Linked DNA regions of Homo sapiens: regions 2 and 3 are each linked to region 1. The links are contacts of gene promoters, found by promoter capture Hi-C in blood cells and fetal thymus (Javierre and others, 2016). All regions are on one chromosome and are shown on one strand. Each heading gives the region's core, a stretch centred on a gene start or on the middle of the fragment in contact. The rest is flanking DNA. Distances are from core to core; before and after follow the strand shown. Region 1 holds the start of TCFL5 (transcription factor like 5). Region 2 holds the start of LSM14B (LSM family member 14B). Region 3 holds the start of TAF4 (TATA-box binding protein associated factor 4).

The links. The method cuts DNA at HindIII sites, captures the fragments that hold promoters and counts their contacts. A CHiCAGO score of 5 or more calls a contact.
Region 2: a contact is called between the fragment with the promoter of LSM14B here and the fragment with the promoter of TCFL5 in region 1, in 1 of 17 cell types (neutrophils). The highest score is 8.5, in neutrophils.
Region 3: the fragment with the promoter of TAF4 here is called in contact with the fragment with the promoter of TCFL5 in region 1 in 1 of 17 cell types (neutrophils); the score reaches 11.1 in neutrophils.

Annotation. Positions count from the first base shown.
Region 1 is chr20:62,859,283-62,863,392 of GRCh38, forward strand. TCFL5 (transcription factor like 5) reads right to left here and starts at 2,540. Exons shown (of 6, transcript NM_006602.4): 1 at 1,742-2,540; 2 at 843-1,026; 3 at 82-244. The coding sequence starts at 2,388. It overlaps LOC105372717 (a long non-coding RNA gene), which reads left to right and starts at 2,153. Exons shown (of 4, transcript XR_936989.4): 1 at 2,153-2,259. RefSeq lists silencers at 1,959-2,108, 2,609-2,798, 2,849-2,948 and an enhancer at 2,333-2,987. The HindIII fragment of the contact is 6,144 bases long and covers 819-4,110 here.
Region 2 is chr20:62,120,380-62,124,418 of GRCh38, forward strand. LSM14B (LSM family member 14B) reads left to right here and starts at 2,096. Exons shown (of 9, transcript NM_144703.3): 1 at 2,096-2,414. The coding sequence starts at 2,288. It overlaps LOC105372706 (a long non-coding RNA gene), which reads right to left and starts at 3,305. Exons shown (of 3, transcript XR_936963.2): 1 at 3,077-3,305. RefSeq lists silencers at 1,155-2,244, 2,405-2,944 and enhancers at 1,608-2,295, 2,296-2,984, 2,985-3,672. The HindIII fragment of the contact is 16,298 bases long and covers 1-4,039 here.
Region 3 is chr20:62,063,629-62,067,327 of GRCh38, forward strand. It overlaps TAF4 (TATA-box binding protein associated factor 4), which reads right to left and starts at 2,253. Exons shown (of 15, transcript NM_003185.4): 1 at 823-2,253. The coding sequence starts at 2,182. It overlaps MIR3195 (microRNA 3195), which reads left to right and starts at 1,174; the gene lies at 1,174-1,257. It overlaps LOC105372705 (a long non-coding RNA gene), which reads left to right and starts at 2,826. Exons shown (of 2, transcript XR_936960.3): 1 at 2,826-3,063; 2 at 3,314-3,699. RefSeq lists enhancers at 1-456, 457-971, 972-1,485, 1,486-2,000, 3,029-3,542 and silencers at 1,934-2,023, 2,284-2,393, 2,654-3,033. The HindIII fragment of the contact is 9,555 bases long and covers 1-3,699 here.

The sequences.
Region 1 (4,110 bases), core at 1,290-3,789:
CTGCCCCCCAAGGCCAAAATGCCATCAGCCACAGGGCTCAGTCAGAAGAAAGCTCCCACTACCTGCTGCTTCATCGCTTACCTCCCACTTTAATCCAAACTTGCTCAGGCAAAACTTTGTTTCTACTACCTAACGTCTGTTTAGTGGATTCAATTTCTTGCTGATAACAGAAAGAAAATGCTCTAGGCAATCCAATATCCTGGTGCTTGGCAGCTTCAAGTACAGAACATGAGTTACTAGAACTCTGGAAAAAAATGAAGCAACAGGAATTTTATCAATATGTGGCTTACTCTCCTCTTTACTGCACAAATGAAATGCACTTAACAAACATCAAAACTACTAACACGTAATTTGAAGAACTTTAGTTGCACTGAAGATTTAAAAATATTCGCATACCACATAAACACTCAACTTTCACAGGTATTTTTTTGTTTTTGTTTTTTTGTTTTTTTTTTTGAGACAGGCTCTCACTCTGTCGCCCAGACTGGAGTGCAGGGTCGCGATGTCAGCCCACCACAACCTCCACCTCCCAGGCTCAAGCGATTCTCCCGCCTCAGCCTCCTGAGCAGCTGGGATTACAGGTGTCCGCCACTACCACCTGGTTAATTTTCGTACGGGGTTTCACCATGTTGGCCAGGCTAGTCTTGAACTCCTGAACTCAAATGACCCACCCACCTCGGCCTCCCAAAGTGCTGGGATTACAGGTGTCGGCCTTGGCGCCCGGCTTAAAAGGTTATTAAGCTCACTGAAGGGAAAAAAAAGTACTTGGGACCTAACCAAAATAAGTTAAAATTTACCCATTTAATACAAAAGAGCAAAGCTTCACAAATCATGTTCCCTACCTGTGTCTGTGAAAGATTAGAATTTCCACTAGTAGAGCAAGCATTTGTAGTAAACAGTGGGTATGTAAATTGCAAAGCAGTAGTTGTAGCCGCAGTTTTATTTTTCACTAATGCTGTACATTTGTTTTGTTGCTGAAGAGGAACATTCATTAGTTCAGATGGATGTCGAATGAGAGTTACCAAACTGCCAAGACAAAAGAAAGCCCAGAAGTGTCAGCAATACGTGGCAGACAAGCATCCACCATCCCACTCCCATGGCTCTGGCTAGTTTTTCCAGACAGCAACCCAACTCTCATCCTGGAAATCTCTACACAACAATTAGCAACTATCGCTGCTGTGGAAGTCCTCCTCTTCCTATGGAGGAAAAGCAAAACTGCGCCACCTCCCTGCTCTCATCACATCCTGACACCAATCTCACTTTTGCCATCCTCCAGTGTGACCACGATGGGCAACTACAGGCTGGGATGAGCAGAAAACTGCGGACGCAGCCCCTTCCACAGCCATCCCTGAGGGTCGCCAAGGGGGCGGCTGCAGGCTGGAGCCTCATTTTAGAGCTCAAAGCCTGCAAACCCCCGTCGGGCCTTCCTAGGCTTCCCTGACATCCAAGAGTGCCACCCGGAGCACATGGTTCCCAGGAATTCTGCGCGCTCGGCCCCACTCCAGGCGGGGCCACTGAGGGAGGGGGTGTTTAGTTTCTGGAAGTACCTGCTCCCCGGGGCCCGCACAGCGCACACAGCCTTTCGGGGCGGCCCCAGACCCGGTGAGGTCCGCGCCCTGTGCCGCCGGGAGGGCAGGCTGGGGGCGTGCACAGCGAGGGCCCCCTTTGCCTCCGCCCCGGCCCCGGCCCCGGCCTCGGCCTCCACCCGGGCCCCGCCAGCCCCCGGCCGCCGGGCACGCACTTGTTGAGCGCCCCGCCCGGCTCGGGGGGCTCGGGGCCGCGCGGCGCGGGCGGCGGCTCGGCGGGGATGCTGTTGAAGCGGTCCTCCAGGCGGACGCGCACGGCCGGCTTGGCCCGGGCCTCGGGCGCGCCGTCGGGTCCAGCCGCAGCCGCAGCCGCGCCCGCGCCCTCCTTGGCGGCGCCGTCGGCCCGGGCCCTCGCTCCGTCCCCGCCGCCCGACGTCTTCTCCGCCGCGCCCGCCTCGCTTAGCAGCATCATGCGCAGCTCCTGGAAGTCGATGTGGCCCAGGCAGGGCGCGTCGGCCGCCAGCGCGGACGGGCACAGCACGGGGTACACGGGCGCCGCGCCCCCCTGACCGCCCGCCGCGAAGCCGCCCGCGCCTGCGCCCGGGCCCGCCGCCGCCAGCAGCGCCGAGTTGAGGCGCGTCTCGAGCTCGCCGTCAGCCGCCGCCTCCATGTGCGAGCAGAGGATGTGCTGCAGCTGCGTGTACTCCACCTCCGTCATCTCCACCAGGCTCAGGTCGGTGGTCGTGAAGCTCAGCCCCGGCTCGCCCAGCGCCGCGTCCCCGCCGCCCGCGCCCTCGACGGCCGCCTCGCCGCCTGCCGCGCCTGCCTCCGGCGGCGGCTCCCGCGGTCCGGGGCCCGACATGGCGGCGCGGCGCGGCCCAACGGCGGCGAGGGCGACGCGGGCGGCGGGCGGCGGGAGGCGGGAGGCGGGAGGCGGGAGGCGACCCCCGGCCCGAGCACTACTCTGCGCCGGCCACAGCCGGCGCGCCGTTGGGGGAGGGAAAACCGCTGAGTGCCGCGCACAGCGCCTGCGCCGCCCCGCCCCGCAACGGCAACCCCACCCCTGCGCCAGCCCCGCCCCCTCCGTTACCCGCCGCCGCCGGCCCCGCCCCCGCCCAACCGCCCGCACGCCCGGCCCCGCCCCACGTCGGCGGATGCTTGCGCGGAGGGCCCGCCCCCACGGCCCAGCCACGCCCCCACAGCTAGGCCACGCCCCCAGCTCAGGCCACGCCCGGTTCCCAGCCACGCCCCTGCTGCCCGGCCACTCCCCGCTGAGGCCCGGCGAGGGCGGCTGCGCTGGAATCAGCGTGATACCTACGCGGTGACACCCTGGGGAGAAGCCACGTCCGTGCGTGCACGTGCGCCCCATTACAGCGGCAGGAATGAAGACGTTGTCAAAACAGCTCCCTGGACCCACAGTCCACAGTGCCCAGGCCATCCGCTTCATCCGCGTAAAATGCGCAGCGCATGGCCGGGTTCTGTGGCTCATGCCTGTAATCCCAGTACTTTGGGAGGCCGAGGCAGGTGGATCAGGAGGTCAGGAGATCGAGACCAGCCTGGCCAACATGGTGAAACCCCGTCTCTACTAAAAATACAAAAATTAGCTGGACGTGGTAGTGCGTGCCTGTAATCCCAGCTACTCGGGAGGCTGAGGCAGGAGAATCGCTTGAACCCGGGAGGCGGAGGTTGCAGTGAGTCGAGATCTTGCCACTGCACTCCAGCCTGGGCAACAGAGCCAGACTTCATCTCAAAAAAAAAAAAAAAATGCACAGCGCGACGGTGGTGGTACATTCCCAGCGCTGGGCCCGCCTCCACCGCTGCATTCACCACCGGTCTCCTGTAGCAGTCAGCACACTGCCCCTCCCCCGCCTGCAGCCACTAATCTTCTGTGTCCAGGAGTTTGCCTAGGCTGGGCCTTCCCTGTTAAGGGAACTATGCAATATGTGGTCTTTAAGAGACTTATTTTTGCAATCTTGAAATAATTCCTGTACTTAACCTCTCACCCACATTCCCATCTCACTCAGTGGTTGTCTGTTCTCTGTCTAGGCATTAGGACACTTAAAGGCCTGTGACTTGCACATCGTCTTCTAAGCCGGGTCTGAATCTTTCGCTCATTTCATCACAGTTTAGACACAGACCAATATATTACAATGATTCAACGATGGGCTATGAAAGCTCAGCCATGCAAATCTAAACTCACACATGTATACATGAAAATAATATATCAGTTTTGGGCAAAACATCAGGTTTCAGAAAACACTACCAAGGAGGAAAGCAAGGACTTAAAACTCTCAAGGACATGGCAACAGAAGTCGTCTAACGTAAAACAGAGAGGGAAGGCTAAGAGAGTGAGCAGAGCATCAGTGAGCTGTGGGGCCGCTTCAAGCAGTGTGATTTGAAGTCCCCTGGGGGTGGAAGGATGGGGAGAAAGACATTTTAAGAAGTAATGATTGCCAGGTGAGGTGGCTCACGCCTGTAATCCCAGCACTTTGGGAGGCCGAGGCGGGCAGATCCCTTGAGGTCAGGAGTTCGAGATCAGCTTGGCCAACATGATGAAATCTCGTGTCTACTAAAAATATAAAAA
Region 2 (4,039 bases), core at 846-3,345, 740 kb before region 1:
AATCTTGGCAGATGAAACTGAATTTTCCCTCTTCTCTTCTGCTTCCTGTGTCCCCTTCCTTAAACTCATCACTGTTCTCTTACTGGCCATTGCCGGGCTCTGGTGGGAGCAGGTTGGCTTCACCTTTGTGAAGAGACAAGAGACAGTGTGATGCGGCCCCAAGCCTGTGGAGGATGCCACCAGGCCAGACTGCAACTTCTCTGCGTGACTCCCCCGTGCTGGGCCTCTGTTTCCCCTTCTGTCAAATGGGGAGTCACAGCGTCTACCCTGCAGGGCAGGTAAGATCTTCTTATTATAGTCAGAAACACATTCTAGGTCCTTACCAAGTCCACACTTACACAAACAGGTGAATTAAATATTTCACAAAATAATACTTACTTTCACCATGCGAGATACTATTATTTTCTTTTTTTCCTTTAGAAATAGGGTCTTGCTGCCACCCCTGCGTGCAGTAGTCCAATCACAGCTCATTGCAGCCTCCAACTCCTGGGCTCAAGTGATCCTCCCGCCTCTGCCTCCACCTCCCCAGGAGCTGGAACTACAAGTATGTGCCCCCACACTCGCCCAATTTTTTTTAAAGTTTTTTTTTTTTTTGTAGAGATGGGGTCTCCATATGTCGCCCAGGCTGATCTCAAACTCCTGGCCTCCAGTGATCTTCCCGCTTCGGCCTCCCAGAGTGCTGAGATTACAGGCATGAGCCACCCACCACGCCATCTGATATCTTCTAGCTTATTCTATTTCATTTTTATTATTATTTTTCTTGAGACGGGGTCTAGCTCTGTCGCCCAGGCTGGAATGCAGTGGTGAGATCTCTGCTGACTGCAATCTTCACGTCTCAGGCTCAAGCGATTCTCCTGCCTCAGACTCCCGAGTAGCTGGGGATTACACGTGTCTGTCACCACGCCCGGCTAGTTTTTTTGTATTTTTAGAGTAGAGACAGGGTTTCACCATTTTGCCCAGGCTGGTCTTGAACTCCTCACCTCAAGTGATCCGCCCGCCTCCGCCTCCCAAAGTGTTGGGATTACAGGCGTGAGCCACCGCGCCCAGCCTATTGCATTTTTATAGTCACCACCCACTACTTTTTTTTTCCAGGACCCAATATTGGTCCGTGATCTGATGATGTTCACGGTCAAGACGGAAGCAAAAAAAGCACACACCGCGCGCCCTCGGTCACTAATCACGCGGAGTATACGCGAGGAGGGCCCGCAGCTAAGCGACGGCGGGCGGCCGAGCTTCCTCCACGGCCGGGGAGGTGGGCAAGGCCTCCGGGCCGCAGCCCCGGGTACGAGCGGAGGCTCCGAGGCCCCCGGTAGCCAGTCAGAATTTATTTTAAGGGAAATGGAAAGCTGCGGCAGGCTTTGGGAGGAGGGGCAGGATTAAAAGAGAAAGTGTGCTCAGCATGTTATATTTAGAGGCTGCCACGCCGGAAGCGCCGCCTTCCCGGGAGCTGCCGCCGCGCCCGCCCCCCGCCGGCACCTGGGCACTGGGGCGGGAGTCCCGGGGCTGCCCGGGAACACCCGGCGCCCAGGGCCTCCGCCACTCCCCGGTCCCCCATGAGGGTGAGGGCTATAGGCGCATCTGGCCCAAGATAGGGGAGTCGTCCGGACCCCACTTCTGTAGGAGGGGAAACTGAGGCCAAGGGGGCAAAGCCCCCGTGTTCGCGGCGCCCAGGGTCCGGGGCGGCGCCGGCACGCGCGCGGGCGGGGCCTGGCGCTCCTCCCCGGTCCCGCCCACTGAGCGTGCAAACCGCAGCCGCCCGCCCACGCGCACGCGCGCTCCTCCCGGGCCGCTTCCCACCCCTCCCCCCGCCCGCTCAGTCTCGTGCTCCCAGCTCCGCGAGGGGCCCGCCGGGAGCCGGCCGAGGGTGGGGCGGATCGCCGGGGAGACCCGCCCCCGGCCAGCGGCGCCTTGCTGCGCAGGAACGACGCGAGGGCCCGCCCCCCAGCTGGCGGCCCGGCCATATTTAAAGGACGGCGGGCGCGGCGAGCCAATGGGCGGCGAGCGTGAAGGGGCGGTGCGTGGCGGTGCGTGGCGGCGCGAGGCCCCGGATGTGGCTGCGGCGGCCCCTCCTCCCCCGCGCTCCTCTCAGAGCCCCAGTCGCGCGCCCCTTCTTGGTTCGCTCGGTGCCCGCGCAGGCCCCTCGGGCGGTGGCGAGGAGGCGCCCAGGCGGAGGCGGCGGCGGGCGGAGGAGCGCAGGAGCGGGCGGCCAGGCCACCGCGCGGCGGCGGAGCGGGCCGCGGCCCGGCGCTCCTTCCCCACCGCGGCCCGACGCACCCCGGCCGCCGCCATGAGCGGCTCCTCAGGCACCCCGTATCTGGGCAGCAAGATCAGCCTCATCTCCAAGGCGCAGATCCGCTACGAGGGCATTCTCTACACCATCGACACCGACAACTCCACCGTGGCGCTCGCCAAAGGTAGCGGCCGCCGCCCGCCCGAGCCCGCTGACCCCCGTCCGCCAACAGCCCCGGCCTGCGGTGCCCTCCCCGCCCCGGGGCGCCCCGGAGCCTGGCGCCCAGACCCCGCCCAGAACCCACCCAGGGCACACCCGGCCCGAGATCCCCTGCCCGCGCCTTCACCCCGGACGCCCCCGAGGCGCCCCCTTCCCGCGCGCCACCCTCCCCCAGCGTAGCCGGCCGCACAATGGTCTCCCTGGGCTCCCAGGGCGGCGGGATTGTGCGCGGGCGCCCGGCGGTGTTTGGTGAGGGGCGGGCCCGGCCCCCGCGGTGCCGCCCCCTCGGCCGCCCAGCCCACCTCTGCAGGTGCCAGCTCCGAGGAGCAGGGCGGCTCCCGTCAGCGGGCCTCCTCCCCGCCAGCCTGGGGGGATCCCTGCGGGGGAGCCTCGAGGTCGGGTGGCGGGGCCAGTGTCCCGGCGTCTCCCGAAGGCTGGGGGTGGGGTCACAACACGCGAATCCTGCAAGCCTTTCTGGAACTTATTAGACAGCTGGGGCCTTGATCCTGAACAAATACCGCGTCCTAATGCGGCCTCCTGCCAAGGCAGAAGCATCCGTTGGCAGCCAGATGCCCCGGTTTAAACGGTTCTCCTGCTCTATCCTGACCTTCCCACTGTGGGGCTTACCTTTTGGTGACAGCCGCCTGTGGGTGCTCGTAACCGGCTGTGGCCGCTGGAGGACTTACAGGAGGGGGGCTCTTTAGAGTCAGAATCTCTGAGGTTGTTGAGGCAGCGGGTGGTCCAGAGTTTCTTTGTCTTCATCACCCAGAGAAGACGGGGAGTGCACTTCCCCTGCCTCTCAGAGAAAAGTGCCCGTGGAGCCACGTCTGCCTAAGCCCGTGTGTGTGCTGGATCTGGCGCTAGGCTCCCAGGGGTTCTTGAAGTGTCTAGACGCGTCTGAAACGCTGCTTAGGTCACAGGGAACTTCATGTGTAGAAGAACGCACTCATTCCAAACAGGGAGTGTCTCCTTTTGAAGCCCGTCTCCTGCGTGGCTTCAGGAGCTTGTTGAGTATGCCAGGGCTATGCACTCACTTGCAGCCATGGAACCTCACTACACTTATTACAGGAGAGCCCAGTTAGAGAAGCTGAGGCCCAGAGTAGGCCCAGGAGTTAGCAGGAGTTGTGTCTTACCAGTTAGAGGCTGCTGTCCCACCCACCTCTGCCCCTAGAGGCTTGCTAGAAAGAGACTTGGGCGCTCCTGGAAGCCTGCTGGTTAGGGGTTAGTAGACTCAATTCCTTATAGATGCGGAAGCCGGGGTCAGAGGTCCATAATCCTGGGACCCTGTCTCCCTTTGTTTTCTGTTACAGCTGTTCCAAGGTTTGTTATGGATAGAAGGGTAAGGGCAACACTCGTCTAGATTCCTTTGTGAGAAAACTGCCTCCTCAGGCGCAATGTGCGGTGAGGCTTTGGGCATAAAGCAGCCGGCTGGCTGTTGGATCTACAGAGTCAAACGTGAACAGGGAGGCCTTACGAAGCAAGCCTTGTTTTGCTGAGAGCTCTGTACGTTGGTGCCTTCGCACATCAGACTGTCAGTCTGTGAAATTGTTCCTTGTCATCTTTGTGATCTAGAGCTGTCTGTTGTCTGGA
Region 3 (3,699 bases), core at 1,003-3,502, 800 kb before region 1:
CCCTGCACGGAGCGAGAACATCTGCTGCCACCGCCCTCCCACTGCCCTCCCGAGGGGGCAGCAACCAGAGTAGCTAGGCGCTCCTTCCTTTAGGCACCAACGCAGCTCTGGAAGAGACAGTGACACACACGGTGCTGAAACCCTACTCCACAGCGTGGCTCTCAGCAAGGCTGCGCGCCGGGAGGACTCTCGCAGGATGCGCCTGACATCTCTCCCTGCCTGGTGGCAGCAGAGGAGCCCAAGCCTTCCATCCAGAGTTCCCGAGCCTCAAGGAGGGGGCGTCGCGCCCCCGTCCTCGCCTGGAGACTGAAGAGGCTCGAGCCCAGGGTCACCAAGGGGCAGAAAGGCTAAGTGGGGACACAGGCCACACGCCTAACTGCAGAACTGAGCAGGGGACAGCTGCTGCCACTCACAGCCCCAGGTACTGCCCTCAGCTCTGCAGACCCCATCGCCTGGCCCAGGGAGCCCCTGCGCTGAGCCTACCAACCCGGGCAGGGACGCATAGGGCGGGAGCAGGTAAGGACCACTCCACTAAGAGTCCTGGCTGAGCCACTCCGAAACAGACCAGCCCCAGGCACAGGCAGCCAGCGCGGACGTCAGGGACAGCGACAGGGACGCAGGCTATGCCGACTCCCTCTGGCTCACTCGCAGACAGCCACCCGGGCTGGCCCCGCACCTGGGTAGAGACTGCCCCTCGGCCTGCTCCAGCCACGGGCCTACGGGACAGATGACCTTAGCATTCCACCAGCGGAGAACTTCCTGGAACTGGCAGCTGGCGCTGCTGGGAGCCGCCCTTCCCTCCCGCCCCGTGCGGCCACTCACCTGGGGGCAGCTGGAAGTTCTGGATGTTGGTCGGGTTCTGAGGCGGCTGCGGCAAGCGGGGGGCCAGCACGGTGGGCGTCAGGGTGGCCCGAATCCCGCTGGTGGTGGCCGTGGGCGTCCGGGACAGGCTCTGGGTCACTGCGCCGGCCGCGCCTTTGGGCAGCCCGGTGGGGGTCCCGGGGGCGGGCGGCGGGACGGCGGCCGGGCTGGGCAGCGCCCCTTGCATAGTTGGCCCGATGACCATGCTGGCCGCCGTGCTGGCCGGGCCGCTGGCCGCCAGGGTCTGCGCCGCCGGGGGCGCCGCCTGCACCACCCTCTTGGGCGACTCGGCCTTGACCCCCGGCGCCGGCGCCGCAGCCGCCGCGCCGGGCCCGGGTTGGCCGCTGACCCCCGCGGGGCCCCCGGCGGCCGGGGCGGGGGCGGGGGCTGCCCCGGCGCTGCCCCCGTTCTGGGCGGCGGCGGGGGGCGGCACGGCGGGCGCGGCGGTCGGGGGTCCGGCGGGGTGGCCGGGCGGCCGGGCCAGAGTGGCGGGCGCGGGGGGTGGCGGGGGCGGGGCGGCGGCGGGGGCGGCGGGCGCGGGGGCGGCGGGGGGCGAGGGCGCGGCGGGCGCGGGGGGCGCGGCGGCGCCCACGAAGGGGGGCGTCTGGATGACAGTGCCGGGGGCGGCGGGCTTGGGCAGCGGCAGCAGCGCGGCGGGCCCGTTGTTGACCAGGCTGACAGCAGGTGCGGCGGCGTGGTGCGAGTTCAGCAGCGCGGCGCTCCCATTCAAAGTTTGCGCGGCGCCGGGGCCGGCGGGCTTGCCAGGGCCAGGGCCGGGGCCGGGGCCGGGGCCGGGCCCGGGGCCGGGGCCGGCGCGGGCGGCCAGCGCGGCGGGGCCGGCGGGCTTGGCGGGGCCGGCGGGGGCGGGCTCGGGCCCCGCGGCGACGGCGGCGGCGGCGGGCACCGGGGCGCAGGACCCCGCGCTGCCCTCGGGCGGCGGCCTCAGCTTCGCGGCGGGCGGCGCGGGCCCTGCGGGGACAAGGGGGCGGCGCGGTGAGGGGGGGCCCGGGCGCTGCGGCCCCCCGCCCCCCGGCCGCGCTCTACCTGCGGGGGGCGGCTCCGGCGCCGCTCCGGGCGCGCCCTCGGCGGGGGCGGCCGGCCCTGCGCCCGCGGCTCCGGCCGGGCTGCCGCTCACAACATGGTTCCCGAGCGCGCCGGCGGCCGCGGCCCGCACCTCGGGCGTGCGCGGCGCGAGGTGGTGGTGGTGGGCCGCGCTGGCCGCCAGCTGCGACTCCAGCGAGCCCACCAGGTCGCTCACCACTTTCTCGTCCACCTCGCTGTTGAAGAAGACCTCGTCCAGCAGATCCGAGCCCGCCGCCATCTTTTTTCCTCGGCCGCCGCCGCCGCCGCCGCTCGGGCCGAGCGCGCCTGGGCGAGGAGGAGGTTCCGACTGGGGCGGGCGCTGGGCGGGCGGGGGGCGGCGCGCGGCCGGCGGGGGGCGGGGGCGCGCGGCCGGGGGGCGGGGGAGCGGGGGTGGCGGCCCTGCGCAGGCGCGGAGACCGCGGGCGCCCGGCGATTGGCTGCGGCGCGCGCTTAAAAGGCGCGGCCAATGGCTGCGAGCGCTAGAGGCCGGGGCGCGGGCGGTCGGCCGGGGTGCGGCAGCAGCGGCGGGAAGCGCGGGGGCTGGAGCTCAGGGGCGCGGGCGCCGGGGCGGTGGCGGACGGGGAGGGGGCCGCCGGGCGGGGCGCGGGATGCGGGAACGGTGCGCTGGGCCGGGCCGAGGCGGGCGCGGGGCGGCGACGGGGCCTCGCTCTTTGTCTCGGCTCGCTCCAAAATGGCTGCGGCGGCGCTGACGGGAGCGCCGGGCGGGCGCCGTGCGCGGTGGCAGCGGCGGCGCAGGGCCCGTCCGAGGCCCGGGGAACAGCGCGCGGGGATGCCGGGGCGCCGCCGGGCGGCGCGCAGGCCCTGGAGTGGATGGGCCTGGGAGGCGGGCGGGAACGGGGAGGGGACTGTCGCAGCGCGCCCTGGGGACGGGGACCGGCGCCCGGCCCCTCCAAGCCGCCGCGGGGAAGCTGGGTCCGCCTCTGGCTCAGCCGGTCCCGGGCGGTGGGGAGGGGTCCTGCGCGCACGGCTCTTCTCGCCCTCCAATCGTGACCACCCCTGGCCCTTCCCTCCATTTTTAATCAATAAACCCAGCCGCCCCGGGCTGACTGTCCCCGCACCCAGCTGCCTTGGAGACAGGAGTGTCGTATAAGCCCGTAGGTAAGAGCACGGTGCTTGCCAGGCGCCAAACGAAGTTCCCGAGCCTGAAGCCGGCACGTCTGGAAGTAGCTTTTTTTACCTTCTGCTGGGGGAGGGGAGTAAGTTACCTAAAGTGTTCCCAAGCACCTTCTCTCTAGAAATACTTCAGTAAAAGTTCCAGTCCCCTCTTTCTGCGTGTTTTATTTTCCAACCAAAAGATGGTGTTATTGGACATTTCTAGTGGTTTTCCTTTCTCTCATTTCTTCCTAAGAGCCCAGAATAGGTTTCAGAGAGACGCTTCCTTGCCTCGGACCTCACTGGGGCCAAGAGGCCACAGGGTCAGTCTTCGCAGCTGAAGACAGCGCCGCAATAAGCAGAGACCTCGGGACGATGAATGACGTTGCTGACAAAGAAAATGATTTTTTTAATTGCTTTAACAAAGGAGACTGCTAGTCTCGAAAGCAGACCCGAACTGGACCCTTGTGCCTGTTCGAACTGTAGCCTTGCAAAGGAATGGACTTACTGATAACTGGAATACGGGACTTCACCCCAGGCTTGTTTCTCGACAGCAGCAGCAGCCAATGAGCATTGAGGACGGAGCCTAGGAGAGGTGCCTCCCCTATAGGGGAACAGTGTTTGGGGGAAATCACTGCAAAC